Linked DNA regions of Homo sapiens: all the other regions are linked to region 1. The links are contacts of gene promoters, found by promoter capture Hi-C in blood cells and fetal thymus (Javierre and others, 2016). All regions are on one chromosome and are shown on one strand. Each heading gives the region's core, a stretch centred on a gene start or on the middle of the fragment in contact. The rest is flanking DNA. Distances are from core to core; before and after follow the strand shown. Region 1 holds the start of PUM2 (pumilio RNA binding family member 2). Region 2 overlaps CYRIA (CYFIP related Rac1 interactor A). Region 3 has its middle 14 kb from the start of CYRIA. Region 4 overlaps ATAD2B (ATPase family AAA domain containing 2B).

What was found. The method cuts DNA at HindIII sites, captures the fragments that hold promoters and counts their contacts. A CHiCAGO score of 5 or more calls a contact.
Region 2: a fragment that was not itself captured here is called in contact with the fragment with the promoter of PUM2 in region 1 in 1 of 17 cell types (M0 macrophages); the score reaches 5.1 in M0 macrophages.
Region 3: a contact is called between a fragment that was not itself captured here and the fragment with the promoter of PUM2 in region 1, in 1 of 17 cell types (M0 macrophages). The highest score is 7.4, in M0 macrophages.
Region 4: a fragment that was not itself captured here is called in contact with the fragment with the promoter of PUM2 in region 1 in 1 of 17 cell types (M0 macrophages); the score reaches 5.0 in M0 macrophages.

The regions. Positions count from the first base shown.
Region 1 is chr2:20,348,920-20,352,375 of GRCh38, forward strand. It overlaps PUM2 (pumilio RNA binding family member 2), which reads right to left and starts at 1,925. Exons shown (of 21, transcript NM_015317.5): 1 at 1,678-1,925. RefSeq lists a silencer at 1,308-2,197 and enhancers at 1,393-2,022, 2,023-2,654, 2,358-2,447, 2,655-3,284. The HindIII fragment of the contact is 4,637 bases long and covers 1,208-3,456 here.
Region 2 is chr2:16,649,487-16,652,942 of GRCh38, forward strand. The region is part of intron 1 of CYRIA (CYFIP related Rac1 interactor A); the gene reads right to left. Among named protein-coding and RNA genes, the nearest start is that of CYRIA, 15 kb to the right of the region's middle. RefSeq lists enhancers at 380-429, 470-619. The HindIII fragment of the contact is 1,073 bases long and covers 1,061-2,133 here.
Region 3 is chr2:16,677,791-16,681,246 of GRCh38, forward strand. No RefSeq gene overlaps it. Among named protein-coding and RNA genes, the nearest start is that of CYRIA, 14 kb to the left of the region's middle. The HindIII fragment of the contact is 1,686 bases long and covers 1,022-2,707 here.
Region 4 is chr2:23,900,029-23,903,484 of GRCh38, forward strand. The region is part of intron 1 of ATAD2B (ATPase family AAA domain containing 2B); the gene reads right to left. It also overlaps the pseudogene RPS13P4. Among named protein-coding and RNA genes, the nearest start is that of ATAD2B, 25 kb to the right of the region's middle. The HindIII fragment of the contact is 1,022 bases long and covers 1,381-2,402 here.

The sequences.
Region 1 (3,456 bases), core at 675-3,174:
ACCCTGTCTCAAACAAGAAAAAAAGATTCATAAACAAGTATGGAATGCTTGAGAGAAACAAAATCCAAGTATTATTTGGTAATTTATATACAGTATTTGTAATGCCTGAGAATTTATTCTAAAGTGACAGCTTTGTAAGAGCAAAGTAAATGTCAGTAATTAATTTAGGCTCTTTTAAAAAGTTGAAATCTTGCTAAATGCTGAAACACCTAAGAGAACTTTGGACTCAAATTAAGGAAAGCATGTGTTAAACACAGCTTAAATTGCTGGAAAATGCGTAAGTTACTGGCAATTATAACTCAAAATAGCTAGACCTGTAAACAAAATTTAAAAACTGGACTTAAATCCTCAAGAACCAGGTTTCTGAAATAAAATTTTATTTTTAAGATTATCGTAAACCTTTTCTGCATACAAAAACTGCCCTCATGCACACCAAGAAAATTCTACACAATGCAATTTCACCAAAAATCGGAATTTTAAAGAAATTCTTGCAGCACGGAAAATGCCATCATTTTTATTCATAATGATTGAGCAAATGAAGTAAATCATTGTTTAAAAGGAGGCTAGGAAGAGAAACAAGTTGAAAATACTCATTTTTGTTTTTTTTTTTTTATTTACAGGATTCCTTAAGTCATCTTCCAATACTCCAGGTCACATGGTGAAGAGTCACCTGTTAAACACGAAATCTAACCATTAAACAAGCTTTTAAAATCCTTCGGTAACTCCCTTTATTAAAATTGTTTTCTTGACATACAGTACCTTTACAGGTATTACATTTCTCTTCACCGTTTACAAGCATTTTTCTCATGTTTTCCTTCACCAAAACATCTGCCCCGTTTTCTCAACAAGTAAAAATCTCAAAGTACTAAGTCCTAACATGATGTCTTATTGCACCTAATATGCTGGCAATACATTCCTCTCTTCAAAAGTTTACGTATGTTAGAATAAAAAGCTAAGTTAAGTAGGTTTTCTCTGGCTGTGTTTTCAGAAACAACACTAACTTTTACACGTGTTTGGGCATGAAACTTTAAACATTTTCCCCAAAACCTGACCCAATTCAGATACAAAACTACTGCTCAAATAGTAGAAGCCGCTAATCTTGTCTTTGGTTTTAATTTACATATTTTTCTGAATATCGAAATCCGTTCCTATAACCTAAACAAGGCGAATCCAAGTCACTGCTTCATACCCACATCTGTCCACGGCAAGCTTTTCCCGGACACACTCGGGCCTTTGAAAATGCCCACACTTGTTTTCATAAACCCACTCCTTCCTCTTCACCCACTTGCAATCCGCATGCTTCTCTGGGGCCACCCGGCCTCTCCCCTCTTTCCGAACCCTAGGGCCGACAGCTCGGTCTCTAACCTCCAGCGCGCCGAATCGGAGGGAGAACCGGGTCGGCGCCCCACGCCCCCGAGGCGGCGGCCCCGCAGAGGGAAGGAAGCGGGAAAGCGGCCGGCGCGGCGCCCCCTCCCCCGCACGCGCACACCCCCTTCCGGCACCCCTCCCCCTGCATTGTGCGAGCGGGCCCCAGGCCGCACCGGCCCGGGCACTCAGCAGGCCCTATCCGCCCTCCCGCTGGCGATCGGCTCCCGCCGAGGCCGCCGCACAAAGCCTGGGGAGCCATCCTCGACGGCGCCAAAGGACCGGAGAAAGAGCGAACGCGGACTGACTTACAGGGCTGCTGCGGCCGCGCTGCCTCAGCCGGGGACACCGACCGTTGGGCACACGGCGGCGTCGCTCTTGGCGGTCCTCCCCCTCCTCCGCCTTCGGTGGCGGCAATGTCTTCTTTCTCCACCTACCACCCTCCCCCCCCACCCCACCTCCTCCTTCTCCTCCCCCTCCTCCTCCGAACCACCGAAGTACCGAGGGTGAGACACAGAGACTCACAACAACATGGCTGCCACCGCCGCCTGCCCTCCCCTCCCCCCCGCCCACCGGGCGCGCGCAGTGCACCCCGGGAGAAAGGGGAGGGGGAGCGCTCACCAAGGCGCGGCTCCTTTTAATGCCTTGCGTCCCTGCTCCCGCGCTGCCGCCGCGCGGGCCGGGGGCGCCCTGCGCGTGCGCACGTTCTCCGCGCTCTCACGTGTTTGGCCGCCTCTCCGGCGTGCCCTCCCCCGCCCTCACCTTGCGGGCTCGCGCTTCCCTCCTGGGCTCCGCCGCGGCGGGCTCGGAGAGCGCAGGCGTACTGTTGCCAAACGCTGTGTTCGACTGTCTTCCCGCGTGGGGCCTCGCCTTCTGAATCTTCTTACCCTCGGCTTCCTACCCGGTTGCTCACTGTTTTCCCCCAACTGGGTGTGCGGGTGTCTGCGCCCGCGCCGCCCACCGTGGGGTACTCCTGGCATTTCGCTTCCAGAGTGCTGGCGCCCACAAGAGCCGGACGTTAATTCAGGCCTTTAACTTTCACTCTGTACCTCCCCACAACCAGACGAGGGAGATGCATCTGGGGGTGGAAGATTGTACCCTGCGAGAGGGCTGTCACTCTTCTCGTGGTTGCACCCCAGGCAGGTGGAGCCAGCTCTCAGCAAATTGTCGGCCCCCAGTGCTTGGTCCCGGTGCACACAAAGGAAACTCAGGTCGTTCTCCAGCTGGGCCAGTGATTCTCACTCGTTGGCTGTTTCTTTTTCTCGCGTACTAAGCGCTCTCTCCTTCCCCGTTTACAGGCTAGTTGGAAACTCCAAATCTGCCTTGCTGTCCTGGACCCCCATGCAAAGCAGTGGTGATTCCAGGATTCTAACCTAACCGGCTCCAGGTCACACAGCTGTAACAGGCACCGTGTCCGATTTGTTCTTGATGGTTTGTTTGCACAGCTCCTGGCTCTCCTGACATGCTGCACTTCGTAAATATTCAGGGCCTCCCGTATAGTTTGCTTAATATATGTCTTCCCTAGGCGACTGTGAGCTCCACGAGGGCAAGGACCTTGTGTTTTGTTTCACACTGTGCCCGCAAGTGCCTGTTGAATACACATGGGCTCTTCGGTTTTTAACTATTACTGAAAAATGTCTGACATTGAAATCCATCCCAAGCCCCTACCTTAGGCTCATATTTCAGGCTTCTAGATATTTTCACTTGAATTTTCTTGTCACCAAGCATGTTAAAAACTGAAGTCACACCCATCCCCTACCCCCCACTCTTGTACTGTCTCTGTAATTGGCAGTGTCACCACCTATTCATTCCCCAAATTACACCTCTGAGAACCATCCTTGTCTCTTCCTCTTACCCCGACTCCAAATATAAATAACTTACCAAGCCTCGCAGATTTTTACTTCCCAAGTAATTCTGGAGACAGTCTTCCTCTGCCTCCTCACTAATGCTAGCCTTGCTTCCCAGGTCTGGATTTCTGTAGCTGGCTCTTAATCAGCTTTCCTGTCTCCAGTCTCACTCCCTCCAATCAGTTCTGCTCACTGCTATCTAAAATGCAAATCCAATTCCTGGCGCTCAGGCCTCTGCTTCAAC
Region 2 (3,456 bases), core at 347-2,846, 3.7 Mb before region 1:
TGTACAGTACAGGGCATGGCTGTACAGTACACAGGGCATGGCTGTACAGTACAGAGGACAGTTAGTTGTGTAATACAGGGCATGTTTATACAGTACAGTGGATGGTTGTACAGTACAGGGCATGGTTGTACAGTACAGGAGACAGTTGTACAGTACAGGGCATGATTGTACAGCACAGGGAACAGTTACAGTACAGGACACAGTTGTACAGTACAGGACACAGTTGTACAGTACAGGGGATGGCTATACAGCACAGGGCACGGTTGTACAGTACAGGGCATGGTTATACAGTACAGGGGACAGTTATACAGTACAGAGCACGGTTGTACAGTACCATCCTGCTGGTTGCCAGATGACTTGGATGTACCACTTCCCCTCCCTGGGAGGAGGTTACAATTGGTATAGGACTTGGACATTTGCCTTGTTTACCAAATGGAGTGAAAATAGAATAAAGAAAGCCACATCCCAGTAGAAGTTTCAACAAGAGTCTCAAGTTTCTGCCACCTTGCTCGATCGCTTCTGTCATGAGCATGACACATTCCAAGAAGCACACACCCCCTCAGCCCAGGTTCCAGAATGAGAAGAAATGTACACCAGTGCCACAGAAGCCAACCTGCAGCCCCTGACACGTGGCACAGCAAGACAGTCGTCGCCATCAGCCACTGAGATTTGGGGGTTATTTCTGACTGCAGCAAAAGTGACATACTCCACATTTTTCCAGATTAAATAATTTTATATTCACAGGTATTATGTTGGGGTCTGCTGAGACGAAATTATGTCAATTTTATGGATGACATCCCTAAGACGTAAGAGTGGTTAAGCAATGGCCCAGAAATCAACCAAAAAGAGGAGCAAAGCTATATACTCAGCTGAATGAGTATATAGTATAAAACAAGACTGACTCACTTCAATATAAAAATCTCTGCAAACTGCAGATCGATTAAAACACTAGCAAATCATAAAGGTTTCATTGGTCTCTGGGCCAGTTCCTGATATCAGGGATGATGCAACAACAGACCAAGAGGCCTACAATAGAACAAATGCAGAACCTTCTCCGTTAAGCTTCATGGGCTGGCAGCCCCAGCTCTCACACTCAGAGGCTCCACAAAGCAACCCTAAACATCTCAGAGAGACTGGATGCTCCTCTCTGGCCATGGAAAGGCCTTCTGAGCTCAACAGACAAGCTCTGTAGTGGCTCTGTGACAAGTATCTCAGAATGCCCATTACATGCCTGCAACCGGCACCGGGAATGGCAACAATCAGAGGGTGTGTTATTTCACCAGGAAATTCAAACAGAAAGACCGTGACCTTAAGGCAAGTCAAGGAGGAAGGTAGCAATTCAGGACAGAGGCTCACAGGCTTTGACATGAGTGACTAATTCAATTTTTTGCTCCTGTTGTTTTAAATTCAAACCTTATTGTTCTTTTTCTTTGCTTTATTATCTTCTTTCTCTCTTACTTTCACTTTAAAAAAACATTCCATTCAACGGGGGCGAGTGAGTCACCATAATCATTTATTTAGACGCATTTCAGGCTCGCTCTATGCTATCCGGCCCCACTTGCTGACATGTATGGAAGGCGTTCTGCAGCAGCTGATCTTTTTACCAGAAAGCCCAATTTTCAACAGCTATTTCTGGGGGGTCTGGGAGGGTTGGCACCTTGCATGTGGCTTTTCATGACAATTCACACCTTTGGTTTCCTACCCTGACCCAAGCTAGGCTGACTTCTAACACCTCCCACTCCTGTATACCCACAGATGCTGTTTTCAAGCCTCCTCGTACCTGGAGCAACAATCCTGGCCTTTGCCTTCTTATACTGTCATATCAACTACATTAAATTATCATCCTAGAAAAATTAGGTAAACATATACGTGTGCATGTTTGTAAAGCACCGCACTGCAGTGCAGAAGCCAAATACTAATATAAAATCAGGAAAAGTATTTCTGACAGCTGGAAAAAATCCCTAAACAGTTGCAGACAAACCTGGAGAAGTAAAGTTGATAAAAATTGATCTGTGAACAGACTCTATCCTTCATCCAAAACCTCTCACCAGGTAGCACCTTGTGAACATGGGTCCCGCACAGGCATGTGAGTCACGCCCTGCAATTTATACAGAGCTTTCAACTTGTTTTCAAAGCTTGTTGTCTTCAAAATATTCCTGAAAAGGAGGCAGGAAGGAAGATTAGCTCCACTGGAGGATGAGGAGATGAAGACCCAGGGAGGCTGTCCACTCACTTTGAGCAGGTCATTGGCAGACCAAGAATTAACTTTTTATTATTTTAATATCAGGTGCCGTGAATTTTTTTTTTAATTTCCCCATTTTAAAAACTTGTAATATGCAGTTGAATGCAGGAAATTCCAGTCATCTTATGTCAAGTACCTTCAGATAAGGTTCTTCAAGGAGGCTGCTTGGAATGGGTTCCATGAGGAAGGGGTTTATCTGTCAGAACAACCCCAGCACCTAAGCACAGTCAGTTCTCAAAAAACAGTTTTTGAATAAGGAAAAGGCAAGTCTTTGCTTTTTCCCTTTTTAATATTTTTAAGCAAACCTACTACCTGATCCAGCAGCTGAAAGCAATCTTCCCTCCCCAGCTCTCGTTAATGAACACTCCACAACTTTGTAACTATGGGGTCCATCCTTTGACACCCACACATACTTCTGGTTGGAAATCCATTTCTATCATTCCTTTGTGAAAATTCCCTAACATCTTCCCACAGCTTCAGGATGTCCTCTAGCTTCCGTCTTCAGTGAGCTCTTACCTACCCCCCTCACACTCTAACCCTATGAGCTACTTGTCCCACCTGCTCTAAGTTGCTACAAGTTGCTATAAGCCACTTTTTGTCCTGAGGAGCAGGATTCAGATGGGCAGAGGATACGAGGTGGGAGCTGGCAGCCTCCAGAGGTCCCTGAGCCTCACTGGGGCCAAATGCTTTTCTTAGCCATCCTCTCTCCCCTTGCCGTATACCCTATTATATTTGCTAGGATTTTTCCCTGCATTTGAAGAAATTCAAGCTCCTCTGAGATGAGCATTTTGCTCTGTAAAGGGAAAGGCCCTGCCAGGGGAGGTTCTTTTCCTTCTGGAAAGGTCTCCAGAGATGAAGTCTTCCGGGTCCCACAGACTCCCCCTGCTACCCCCTGCCACCCTCTGCGTCAGCAAAGTGGAGAGTGGAAAGTCTTGGCTGAAATCCTGACACACTTTGAGGGTTTCTCGAGAGCTTCCCTGTTCCAGCCTTCGGTCAGTTTTTATAAACACCAGTCCCCAGCAGGGATCGGATGAGCAGTTAATCCCCGGGGATTCTGAAGAAGCCCTCTTCCTCTGGACTCCAATTAACACTCTCCTCTCCACAGCTTTCACTTCCAGCTTTCTCCTGGCACCTTATCCTTTCCTTAGCAATCCTGCCCATGTGATGCTTGTCCAGCTGGTTAATGGGGATTTACAGCCAGCATTTCTTCAAAG
Region 3 (3,456 bases), core at 615-3,114, 3.7 Mb before region 1:
TATTTGTCTTTTTATTCTGTATAAATCAGAAGTTTGCAAATTATGACATTTGGATCAAATGTAGCCCACAACCTGTTTTTATAAATAAAGTTATATTGGAGCATAGCTAAATTAATTCACTTGTGTATGATCTATGGCTGTTTTTATGCTTCAGTGGCAGAGCTGAGTAGTTGTGATAGAGAATGTATGTCCTAAAAAGTCAAACATATTTACTTCTGGTTTTTCACAGATACAGTTTTTCAACCCTTGATATAGACCGTCACATTAATTACAGTTAAGTGTAGCTGTTACTTTGTCTTTCAAATTCTTATTCCTCTTAATTTATTTTTCTTATCTTATTACACAGGCTTAGATCTTCAGTACAGTGTTGAACAATGGTGCATATATCAATCACCCTTGCCTCATTTCTGAGTTTACTCAGAATATCTTTAGAATTTTACCTTTAGTTGTGGTAGTTCAATAAGTTTTTGGTAGCCACTCTTTATAAAATTAAGAACATCTTCTTTTATTTTGCGTTTTCTAAGGGTCCTTATCACAGATGATGGCAAATTTTATCTAACATTTTCTCTATATTTCCTATGGCTTTTCTCCTTTAATTTGTTTAATGTGATAAAATATACTGGTAGCATTTCTGCTGCTGAATTATTCTTGAAATCCTAAGAGAAACCCTAATTGAAGCTACTGATTTGAATTACTTTTACTTTTATTTAAGTTTTTGCAATCTCCAGGATTATTTATTGTTTCTCTTAATTGTTCTTCTGTGTCATCCATTTTCTTATATGGTTTATAATTTTGGCTATGAGGATATTTTCTATTAGAAACCCATGTGATTTGCTTTGGGTGACAGTTTCTCATTTGCATCACTGATGCTTTATGAGCTTAAGTGTACTGGACTAATCTTTATGTTAATTTATTTCTTTGGTGTCCTGGAAAACTCAACTAGCTTAGATTTGGAACCCTTCCTGTGTTTTGATTTTTTGCAGGTGTGTTTATTTTTATTCCCTGACCTAGGTGGATAAGAAGCTTCATTACAGCTTTCTTGGGTTAGATGGACAGTGATTTTCTACTTCTTTCCATTTTTTTTTTCTTTTTGAGACAGAGTCTCACTCTGTCTGTCACCCAGGCTGGAGTACAGTGGCACAATCTTGACTCACTGCAACCTCTGTCTCCTCGGTTCAGGTAATTCTCCTGCCTCAGCCTTCCGAGTAGCTGTGATTACAGGCGCATACCACCATACTCAGCTATTTTTTTTTTTAATTAGAGACGAGGTTTCACCATGTTGGAAGTCTGGTCTCTAACTCCTGGCCTTGAGTGATCCACTCACCTCAGCCTCCCAAAGTGCTGGGATTACAGGTGTGAGTCACTGCGCCCAGCTGGTGGGCAGTGATTTTTTTACAAACAACAATACCAGTGGCTGCAGAATCAATTCAGATCACTCAGTTTCAGCTGCCCACACACATGGGGCTCCTGGCTGAATTCCCCTCTCTGGGTGGCATTAATCCTTAGTGCCAGCTGTTAAGGCCTGTACCAGGTTCCAATTTCCCTGTAACACTTTTCAGTTTTAAATCTCACTTACCATTTTGAGATCCCCTCTAATTTTTTTCTCAATGTGGAATTTTCCTTTCTTGGTCTCAAATTAGGCTATGGATTTACAATTCCTAGCTGATTACTTTTTCCATTTTTAAGACGGCATGTCTACAGTGTTTTGAGTAAGGGGAGTGTTTTCCACATCAGCTCAGTTTGAATTACTTTTCAGAGGACATAAGGACGTATATATTCTGAAAGGAACACACAAAACCTTAGTAGAAAGGAAGATTCTTCTGCAGGCAGGCCAGACACTTTGTAGGTAAGTGCACAGGAAACACGGGGGTGAAGCTGGCTTATTTTTGACTCTCAAATAATTCCACATATTTAGCAAAGTGCCAACCCTTCCTGGTTACACAACTAACCCTTCCACTGCATCTTCTCTCCTTTCACTTCTGAAGTCACTAAAGGCTGTGACAAACTCTCCAGGATCAGCCCAGCTAATGCCTGCTTTGAGTGGTGCCCAGTTTGATTCCTAGGTACTGCCTCAGCCGGTAGTGTGTGCTTTGTGAAGTTCTCTGTCCATCCCTACAGGAAAACAGGATGTCTCCTCTTTGAGCTGTGGCTACAATTATTGTCCCAAATGTTCATGTCTTTAGAATTGATGTCCTCTTTTTCTCAATCTAGGTCAGTGCTTGGGCTTAATGACTTTAGCTAGAATATGCGATTGAAGTTAAAGACAGCTAAAGCTGTAAAAGACTGTTTTTCTGTCTCAAAATTTATAAACTTGAAAAAAGTTATCACTCTACTTTGACAACTTCAGGCTTTTAAGGATTTGGATTCCTTAGTCCACATTTAAAAAATTCGTTTAAGAAAATTATTCATATCCTGAGGTTACTAAGTGATGAAAATAACACTATATGAGTTCATTAGTCTCTAATATGATTTTTCCTCTCGTTTTATTACCCAATAAAGGAAGTTTTTTCAAATGATGTATTTGGGAGGCAGAAGAGAAGGAGTTATGATTGGTTTCTTCATGGCTATTATCAACCATAAGAGAAAAATTCAGCTAGTTTGCAATTTTCAAAGAAGTAGAGAGATTACTTTGTTAATGTCTATTCAGTTCATTTTCTATTTGAGGAATTGAAAATTTGAGTGTGGTTGCAGAGAAATGACTGAAGAAAGCTTAAATTGCAATATAGTGGCATTGCTTCATCTGCAGAGTTTCTTTGAAGTTGCTTGTAGTGAACGTGGGAATGTGAGTAGGAACAGTAGCCTTGCTTCCTGCAGTTGCACACTTATCCTAAATGAAGGCTTTTGGTAAAAATCACTATTATCATCAAAAAAGCATTTATGGTCTGTACATAGTTCTTTACAAAGGCTTAAAAAAGGCTCAATTAGAGATTATGCATGAATTTGTTGATGTTATTTAAGATAGACAAGAGTGATCATGTTAATCAGAGGACATACAGACACCTGAATAGGCAAGTAATTCACGAAAGAATTGTTGTATTAAAATTCTATAGGCCAAGGGGACATATTTGGGAAAAAAATCAGCACTGGAATGGGAGTCAGGAGACCTGGGTTTCAGTCCTGCTTTGATAGCACTCAGCCGAAGGAACTTGGGACTCAGCAACCTCCATGGGCTTCACTTTCCTCATACGACGTTAGACACAATTAGGAAGTCAGAAGGCAGTCGCTGAAGAAAAATTCCAGTGTGGTTTCTTTACATATGGGCAATAAAACAAACATGAGTCCCTGCCTTCCAGAAGCTCTGTTTGAGAAAAACAAGCCCATGGAAATGGTAGAAAGACTTCTGGTCAACTTTGCTAAACTGCTGCAGAATTAAGCAGAAGTTGAAGACAGGTTATCAGATATGGCTTCCAAAGGGAGGTACAGAAAAATGTATCTAGAAAGAAAGGCTGAATATGA
Region 4 (3,456 bases), core at 642-3,141, 3.6 Mb after region 1:
TGCCTCAGCCTCCCAAGTAGCTGGGATTACAGGTGCATGCCACCACGCCCAGCTAATTTTTGTATTTTTAGTAGAGACAGCGTTTCACTGTGTTGGCCAGGCTGGTCTCAAACTCCTGACCTCGTGATCTGCCAGCCTCGGCCTCCGAAAGTGCTGGGATTAGAAGCATGAGCCACCACGCCTGGCCTCTTACTTTTTATTTTATATTTTTATTATTTTATTTTATTTGAGACAGAGTCTCATTGCCAGGCTGTTCTCAAACTCCTGACCTAAAGAGATCCTCCCACCTCGGCCCCACAAAGCGCCGGGATTACAAGCATGAGCCACCACGCCCAGCTTTAGTTTTCTTTATACTAGCTCATCCACTCCAACCTGGTATATTTACAGACTCCCAAGGTTAAAGTGTGCATTAAAGGTCATCTAACTGAATTACTAATCCAAGACATTCTTTACTCCAATTCTGGTCTGTGAACCAACAACATGGGCATGATCTATTTGGAAGCTCATTAGAAATGTAGAATCTCAGGCTCCACCCTCAGATCCACTGAATCAGAAACCATTTTTAAAAGATCCCCAGGTGATTCATGTGCACATTAGAGTTTGAAAAGCATTATTATATAACATATTCAAGACGTAGTCACTGGACCGCCTGACTGCCACCATCATGAGTCGCATGTGCACTCCTGGGAAGGGCCTGTCTCAATCGGCTCTGCCCTGTCACTGCAAGGTTCCCACTTGGCTGAAGCTGACATCTGATGACATGAAGGAGCAGACTTACAAACTGACCAAGAAGGGTCTGCCTCCCTCACAAATCAGTGTGATCCTGAGGCTCATATGGTGTTGCACAAGTATATTTTTGTGACAGGCAATACAATCTTAAGAATCCTTAAGTCCAAAAGACTTGCGCCTGATCTCCCTGAGGATCTCTACTGTTTAATTAAGCAAGCAGTTGCTATTCGAAAGCATGCTGAGAGGAACAGAAAGGATAAGGATGCCAAATTCCATCTGATTCTGATAGATGAATTCACCGACTGGCTCAATATTATTAATACAAGACCAAGCAAATCCTCCCACCCAACTGGAAACATGAGTCATCCACAGCCTCTGCCCTGGTTGCATAAGTTTGTCTACGTACTCAAGTAATAAAATGATTGTTTATCGAAAAAAAAGGAGTCACTGAGGAAGCAACATCATGTATTTTAAGCTAGAGTGTATCTGTGATACAGAAACTAGTACCTATAAACTACTGTACCAATTTAGATAGCCCAGGCCAGCATTACTCCTTCCAATCAAATTTGATCATTCATCTTCAAGACCTATCTCAGGACCCTTTTTTTTTTTTTCTTCATGAAATCTCCCTGAAGAATCTAGCCTAAATTAAGCTTATCCCTGCTACTAGTTGCAGCCCTACTATACATTTGGGCACTTGATTATTTCAACTTAGCATTATATATTTATCATCTTTAAAGTGTCATGTCCAAGTCTTGAAATTCTAGCAAGATTTTAAGCTCCTGAATTACAAAAACGTACCCTATTTTTTAAAATTCCATGATAACAAGGAAAAACAACAAACAAAATTTCTGGAAATTTGTTCACAAATTATTAATATAAATTATTAGGGGCAAGAAAGGAGGGCTCATGGTGAATTAAGTTTGGGAAACGATGAGGTCCAAGGCTTTTTGCTGCAAAACTTCTAAGAGTATTATGATAACATGCAAAATAAATCTCTAAGGATGAAATAAAGTATGTAACATTTCACAAACTTATTTGATCAAGCTCTCTTTTTTCATGGAATATCTGCAGGTACTAGTTTCCCAAACATACTCTGGAAATAAGTACTATGTACCATTGAACTGAAGACAAAAAAAAAAGTAGTAAAATATTTGAATTTTTAAAATAATCCAAGTATATAGTTACTTGAATATCAATTTAAGTGAGTTTTGCACATTTATTTATTGGCCATTTGCATATTCTACTGGCTTTCAATTCCATTCAGAAGTATTTCTCAAACTGTTGTTTACATACTACCTGAATCAAAAATCACCTGCATTACTCATTAAAAATTACAACCTGCTGGACTGGAATCTCTGGAGGTGAAACGTTTTTAACAAGGGCTTCCAAATGATTCTTAGTACACAAAAGTCTGAGGACCTCTGGCATATAACATACTTCAAGTATAATACAAAGCACATCATCCTAACTGCTACAATGTACTGGTATATTTACTTTTTTTGTCACGGGAGGGTTTCAATCTTGATTTGGCTCTATGACAGAGACCTCAGAATAAAGAGGATTACCAAAGACTCCTTCCCTCCAAAGAAATCTAGGGATTTAAGTAAAGTAAGCAACCACGATGTAAACAGGTACAAAATAATTACTTCAGCACCATTTAATTAACTTCAAGCTTTGGGAAAGCTTCTACCTACAAACCTGATGCTAACAATTCACCCTTAATAGGATGATCATAACCCTCAACCTTAACTTTTTCATCTTCCCTCAAAGCATTTTACTAGCTAATGATAACCTAACCCTTTGAGAGAAGGCGTTACCAGTTTCATGACAAAGATATTTAAAAGATTATGCAATCTACCCACAGCCATTTAGCAATCTGTGTCACAGTGATTATAATCCATGAGTAGGAAAAGTACCTCAGGCATAAGGGAAATAATTTCAGTTAACTAACATTTACTGATGACCTACTATGTACATAAGACGTGGAAGGCAGTGGTAAAAAAGATGGATAAGAACTACTTGAGGCCAAGCACAGTGGCTCACACCTGTAATCCCAACATTTTGGGAGACCCAGGCGGTAGGATCCTTGTGGCCAGGAGTTTGAAACCAGTCTGAGTAACACAGCAAGACCTGTCTCTTTAAATAAATAAATAAATAAATAACCTATTTGATGTAGACTTTAAAGGATGTTTTTGGCCGGGCATGGTGGCTCATGCCTGTAATCTCAACACTGAGAGGTTGAGGTGGGCAGATTGTTTGAGCTCAGGAGTTCGAGCCCAGCCTGGGCAAAATGGCAAGACCGTGTCTCTACAAAAATATAGAAAAATTAGCCAGGTGTGCTGGTCCATGCCTGCAGTCCCAGCTACTTGGGAGGCTGAAGTGGGAGAATCACCTGAGCCCCAGCAGTTGAGGTTGCAGTGAGCCATAATCACGTCACTGCACTCCAGTCTGGGCAACAGAGCAAGACTGTGTCTCAAAAATAAATAAATAAATAAATAAATAAATAAATGTTGTTTTCAAGTCTTCTATAGAAGTGGGAATATGTATTCTAACAACTTAATAATGGGGCACATAAAATACCAGAACACAATCCAAGGATGAGATAACTTCCAAGAGAAGTATAATAATAATAATGTAAAATCCTACAGAAATTAAATAATGAAAAGATATAGTCATCCCCACTTAAGCAACTTTTTTAATTCTAACCTCTTTGAATAGATAACT